Regions from separate parts of the Homo sapiens genome. Here region 2 is linked to region 1. The links are contacts of gene promoters, found by promoter capture Hi-C in blood cells and fetal thymus (Javierre and others, 2016). All regions are on one chromosome and are shown on one strand. Each heading gives the region's core, a stretch centred on a gene start or on the middle of the fragment in contact. The rest is flanking DNA. Distances are from core to core; before and after follow the strand shown. Region 1 holds the start of ZCCHC2 (zinc finger CCHC-type containing 2). Region 2 overlaps RELCH (RAB11 binding and LisH domain, coiled-coil and HEAT repeat containing).

What was found. The method cuts DNA at HindIII sites, captures the fragments that hold promoters and counts their contacts. A CHiCAGO score of 5 or more calls a contact.
Region 2: a fragment that was not itself captured here is called in contact with the fragment with the promoter of ZCCHC2 in region 1 in 2 of 17 cell types (M2 macrophages and M1 macrophages); the score reaches 5.6 in M2 macrophages.

The regions. Positions count from the first base shown.
Region 1 is chr18:62,521,663-62,524,362 of GRCh38, forward strand. ZCCHC2 (zinc finger CCHC-type containing 2) reads left to right here and starts at 1,363. Exons shown (of 14, transcript NM_017742.6): 1 at 1,363-2,700. The coding sequence starts at 1,763. RefSeq lists silencers at 617-726, 957-1,226, 1,257-1,756, 2,647-2,700 and an enhancer at 2,072-2,645. The HindIII fragment of the contact is 5,111 bases long and covers 1,336-2,700 here.
Region 2 is chr18:62,280,160-62,282,859 of GRCh38, forward strand. RELCH (RAB11 binding and LisH domain, coiled-coil and HEAT repeat containing) reads left to right here. Exons shown (of 29, transcript NM_001346231.2): 24 at 487-550; 25 at 2,147-2,285. Among named protein-coding and RNA genes, the nearest start is that of TNFRSF11A, 44 kb to the right of the region's middle. The HindIII fragment of the contact is 695 bases long and covers 977-1,671 here.

The DNA of each region.
Region 1 (2,700 bases), core at 113-2,612:
CAACCTCAAATGTGCTGAAAACAGTTCTCCCTCTCACCCTTTCATCCCCGAAACTGATTCAGGCTTCAGTTCACCCTTTTACTGAACTGTGAATGAGCCTCTTAGGACATAAACTTGTGAGGTGAACAGAGTTCAGCATATGCTCTCCCAACAGATGTTCCAGCACCACCGCAAAGAGTTACAATGTGATTCTTATCTTTCTGCATACTCCTACTACATAGCTGTAGTAGGACTTCTAAATTTAAAGTCTTAAGATTTTTTTTAACCCACCTTTTAATTAACCCTCAAAAGATCCAGCTGAGTTTTAAAAATTTGGACTATGTTGCTAAAAAAAAAAAAAAAAAAAAAAAAAAGTAACAGTGCGAGTGTAAACATCTTGGAAGCCTAAATCTGAAAAACGTAACAAAACTTTTTTTTTTTAAGTTTAAAGCCTGTCAAGTTGGTAGCTTATTAAATTCCTCCAGTCACATGAAATTCACAGCAGAACAAGGATTCAAAATGGGTTAGGCACCGAAATGTCATTTAGCAAATCAATGATTCCCAAAAGATAGAGGTTTAGGGGCGGGGAAGGGAGAGGCTTTTCCTAAACTATCCAGGAAATAATTTTCACAGAGCGTTACAGACTAGGAGCGTCCCCAGCAGCGCTCACCCTCGGCCGGCCGGGTCCCGCTGCGCACCTCCCGGCCGCGCGTCCCCACCTGCGCACGGTGCCTCCAGCCTGGGCGTGGGCGCGGCCCGGGATCGCGGCGCCGGGGCCGCAAACCGGGGCCGCAAACCAGCGCCGCCACCCGCGTCCGGACCCAGTCCCCTGTGAGCGACACCTGGCAAAGTTTCACAAGGTGGGAGACAGCCCACCGCCGGCTTTCAGGAAGTGCACTGGGCGGTGAGGACTCGAACGAGCTCGTCCCGGGGCTGGCGCACTCACTTCGGAGAAACCCCTGCTCCCGGGACGCGTTCACTCCGGCCGCGCAGGCAGCCCGGGCACCACTGGCGGAGGCGGGGCGGCAGCTGGCAAGCAGAGGAGAATCAGGAGTCCAAAGCCGGGCCAGGGCCCTCAGGAAAGGTGAGAGCGGCCGCGTCCCTCCGCTCACGTGGGCCTCGCACGCTCCTCACCGCTCCCGGGCTACCCTCACGCCGCCCCACGGCCCCAGCCCGCGTCCTCCTCCTGCCGAGCACCAGCCTTTAGGACCGCACGGAAGCCGCCGAGAGGGAGGCGGCCGGCCAGCAGTTGGGCGTGGCTTCCTGGAGAAAGGCGGCCCCCCAGGGGGCGGGGAGAGCGACGTCACCGTCGATTCGCGGTGCTGATTGGCGGAGGTGAGGTGCGCGGAGCCCGCAAGCTTCTCCGCCCGGCCCGGCTGCTCCACCTCCTCACCCAGCCGCTCCGTCCTCACCGGCTCGCGAGGGAACAGCTCAGGCACCGCCGCCCCGGCTCAGCGCGGACGGCGGAGAGAGGGAGGCGGAAGGAGGACACCCTCGCTCGCTTGCTCCCACCCGCACCCGGGCTCCCAGAACCGGCGAGGAGCCCAGGGGGAGGAGCCGTCGCGGGCACGCCCCGCCCCCAGCCCGGGAAGACGACGCCAGCGACCCCGCCGGCCGGCCACCGCCCCCCTCGCCGGCCGAGACCCGCCCCCGGCCCCGGCCCTCCCCCGGCGGCATGGAGGGGCCCCGCTCCTGACGGCCGCGCCGCCGCCTCGGCCCGTGCTCCACCTCGCGGCCCCTCCCGCCCGCCCCCGCTCGCATGTCTGCGCCGCCCTAGCCGAGGATGCTGAGGATGAAGCTGCCGCTGAAGCCAACGCACCCCGCGGAGCCGCCGCCCGAGGCGGAGGAGCCCGAGGCGGACGCGCGGCCGGGCGCGAAGGCGCCTTCGCGCCGCCGCCGCGACTGCCGCCCCCCGCCGCCGCCGCCGCCGCCCGCGGGCCCGTCGCGGGGCCCTCTGCCGCCGCCGCCGCCGCCCCGGGGACTCGGGCCGCCTGTTGCTGGTGGAGCGGCGGCGGGGGCGGGTATGCCGGGCGGCGGCGGGGGGCCCTCGGCGGCGCTGCGCGAGCAGGAGCGGGTATACGAGTGGTTCGGGCTGGTGCTGGGCTCGGCGCAGCGCCTGGAGTTCATGTGCGGGCTGCTGGACCTGTGCAACCCGCTGGAGCTGCGCTTCCTTGGCTCGTGCCTGGAGGACCTGGCGCGCAAGGACTACCACTACCTGCGCGACTCGGAGGCCAAGGCCAACGGCCTCTCGGACCCGGGGCCGCTGGCCGACTTCCGAGAGCCCGCGGTGCGCTCGCGCCTCATCGTCTACCTGGCGCTGCTGGGCTCGGAGAACCGGGAGGCCGCTGGCCGTCTGCACCGCCTGCTACCCCAGGTGGACTCGGTGCTCAAAAGCCTGCGCGCGGCCCGGGGCGAGGGCTCGCGGGGCGGCGCGGAGGACGAGCGCGGCGAGGACGGCGACGGCGAGCAGGACGCCGAGAAGGACGGCTCAGGCCCGGAAGGCGGCATTGTGGAGCCCCGGGTCGGCGGCGGGCTTGGCTCCAGGGCCCAGGAGGAACTGCTGCTGCTCTTCACCATGGCCTCGCTGCACCCGGCTTTCTCCTTCCACCAGCGGGTCACCCTGAGGGAACACTTGGAGAGGCTCCGCGCCGCGCTCCGCGGGGGCCCCGAGGACGCGGAGGTGGAGGTAGAGCCGTGCAAGTTTGCCGGCCCCAGGGCCCA
Region 2 (2,700 bases), core at 74-2,573, 240 kb before region 1:
GATGCTCTCCTAATCTCACTAACAGGTTGTTACCAGTAAGTGTAGTAGCATGAACCAATGGCCTAACATTTTAATGTCTCGTGTGGATGACTAAACCAAGAAAGGCCAATGAGTCTGCCTGCCCATCCTCAGTCACAGCTAACCCAGTTCTTATTCCAGTTTACCAAACCATTTTTTATTGCATGTTGACTGGTTTACAGCTGACTCTTCGAGGCATGAGTGAAGCGTTAGTTGACAAGCGGGTTGCTCCGGCCCTTGTTACCTTGTCCAGTGATCCTGAATTGTGAGTTTCACAGACTGCGACCTTAAGTTATCCTGTCTGTCTTTTTGAGCATTCTTCTTGGTCTGCTTTTTTTAAATTTATTTAATTTGTCATTGCTAGAGACTAATACAGTATATTTACCTTGTACTTACTTTAATATACATTTTAATAATACTCGTTGTTCATCTCAAATCTTCAGTTTCTTTCTGTTTTAATTCTAACAGCTCTGTCAGGATTGCCACAATTCCAGCCTTTGGCACTATTATGGAAACAGTAATTCAAAGAGAGGTAGGAATAATTGAAATTTATTTATGTCTGTGTAATATTGATGTGGTCATGATACATGTATCTGGTGGTAGGCTGCAGGGAGCATCTTACCTTTTATTTTGTGCCCTAGTTAGTTACAGGCCAGAGGAGGATCTCACTGTGAAAACATGGTAGCCTAACCAAGGTATATTTCCATATCCTAAGGAAATCTCTAGTCTTTCCTCTCAGTCAGAACATTAAGTATAGGCCAAGCTTTCAGGGATGTCCAAGGGAGAGAATATAGTCATGGGTTCTTAGTTTCTCTTTCTGATTGGGCCAGTAAAGCCCCTTCCTCTTCCCTCTTTTCTACTTATCACTAGAGACAGAAACTAAAAACCCCGGCTTCAGGCTGCTAAAAGCCTTAAACAAAACAAAACAGAACAACAACAAAATAAGGTGTATTGGACAAGCTTGCTAGATGTTCTATTGTAAGCTGAGCTGGATGTTGCAGTTTTGAATAATCCTTCAAATCAGGTCTAGTTCCAAAGCCTTCTATTACCCGGTAGGCTTCTGGCCAATCTACATAAATTCTTGATTGCCAGTGTTGCACAGATTTGAGGACTGTTTTCCCAGATAACATCATTAGGAACACAAATGTATCTCAGTTATAAATGAAGGCAAGAGGGCACTTGTATTCTGATAACTGTGTCATTGGTATGAAGCTGTAAAAGTGATTTAGTAGACTGGTATCCTCTTGTTGCAGAGTAGATCTCTGGGCAGACCCTCTGTCATGCCTGTTTCAGGAGACCACCAAGGTCTTCCTTCTTAAAGGTGTATTTTAATTCTGAAACTAATTTCAAGTTTTTTAGATTCTATTTGCAACACTAACTATAAGACACTTCTCAAAATTGATATCAGATTTTTATTTCTTTGTTATTATATTGGATATGTCCTTATACAAATGAAAAAACCCTGTAGATTAGCACATATATTATTTGTGGACATATTACCCAAAAGAAAAAAGTTTTAATAAAACTCCTTTGTCATATAGATTTTTCATGACAAAAACTAAAGTTTTGTTAGTTACAGAAAGAATATTTTCCATTTTTTCACTTATATATTTCACTGGTGAAGCCACAGAGGAAAAGCACATCATTCTGCAAAGCTTGCAGTCTTGGCAGAATTTCAACATGTTCTCAAAACCTAAAATAAAAATGTCTTTTAGGGAAATGTGAGTAAGATGTAAGTCATTAATGACTCATTGCTTTCAGAAGGTGAATAATTGGGTAACTTACAGTGTGATTTGTTTTAAGAATTATAATTTAGATACAAAATAATCATAAAGTTACCTACTTTTCCCTAAATACGGTGGGATTTTTTTTCTTTTGTTGTTATAATTTGTTCAGGAATATTTGTATTTTTTAATTAAGAATTTGTAAGCATAAGCAAAAGTAGGAAACCTTCTCTGAGCCAAAAGATTAAATAACTATTTATTTAATTCCAAATTTCTACTGTCATTGGACTATAGGTTGCTTTAATCCACTGCTTTAAGTCATGTTTAATGTGTGTCTTTCACTTTAACAACACTACTCAGTTTTCAATATTCTATGAAATGACTGTACAATATCCAATTTTAAGTTGCTGGAAAGAGTGAAAATGCAGTTGGCTTCTTTCCTGGAAGATCCTCAGTATCAAGACCAACATTCTTTGCATACAGAGATCATAAAAACATTTGGTAGAGTTGGCCCTAACGCAGAACCCAGGTTCCGAGATGAGTGTAAGTTGCATTTTTCTACCTTTTTCCTGAATTGTAATGTAAGATCAAAGCTAGACACTCCTCTGAGGCCTTGTCATGTATTAAAATTTTGGTGCATTTGTCATGTGTTAAAGCCTTGTGTACTGAAAGCCTTGTGTACTCTTGTGTACTGAAAGCTAAACATGAAACAAGTTAGTTATTGTGAATTAATCAGTATTGATATTAGTGGATGGTTTTGTATTATTTTGTTTTGAGACAGAGTCTCGCTCTGTCACCCAAGCTGGAGTGCAATGGCATGATCTCAGCTCACTGCAACCTCTGCCTCCTGGGTACAAGTGATTCTCCTGCCTCAGCCTCCCAAGTAGTTGGGATTACAGGTGCCCACCACCATGCCCGGCTAATTTTTGTATTTTTCGTAGAGACGGGGTTTTGCCAT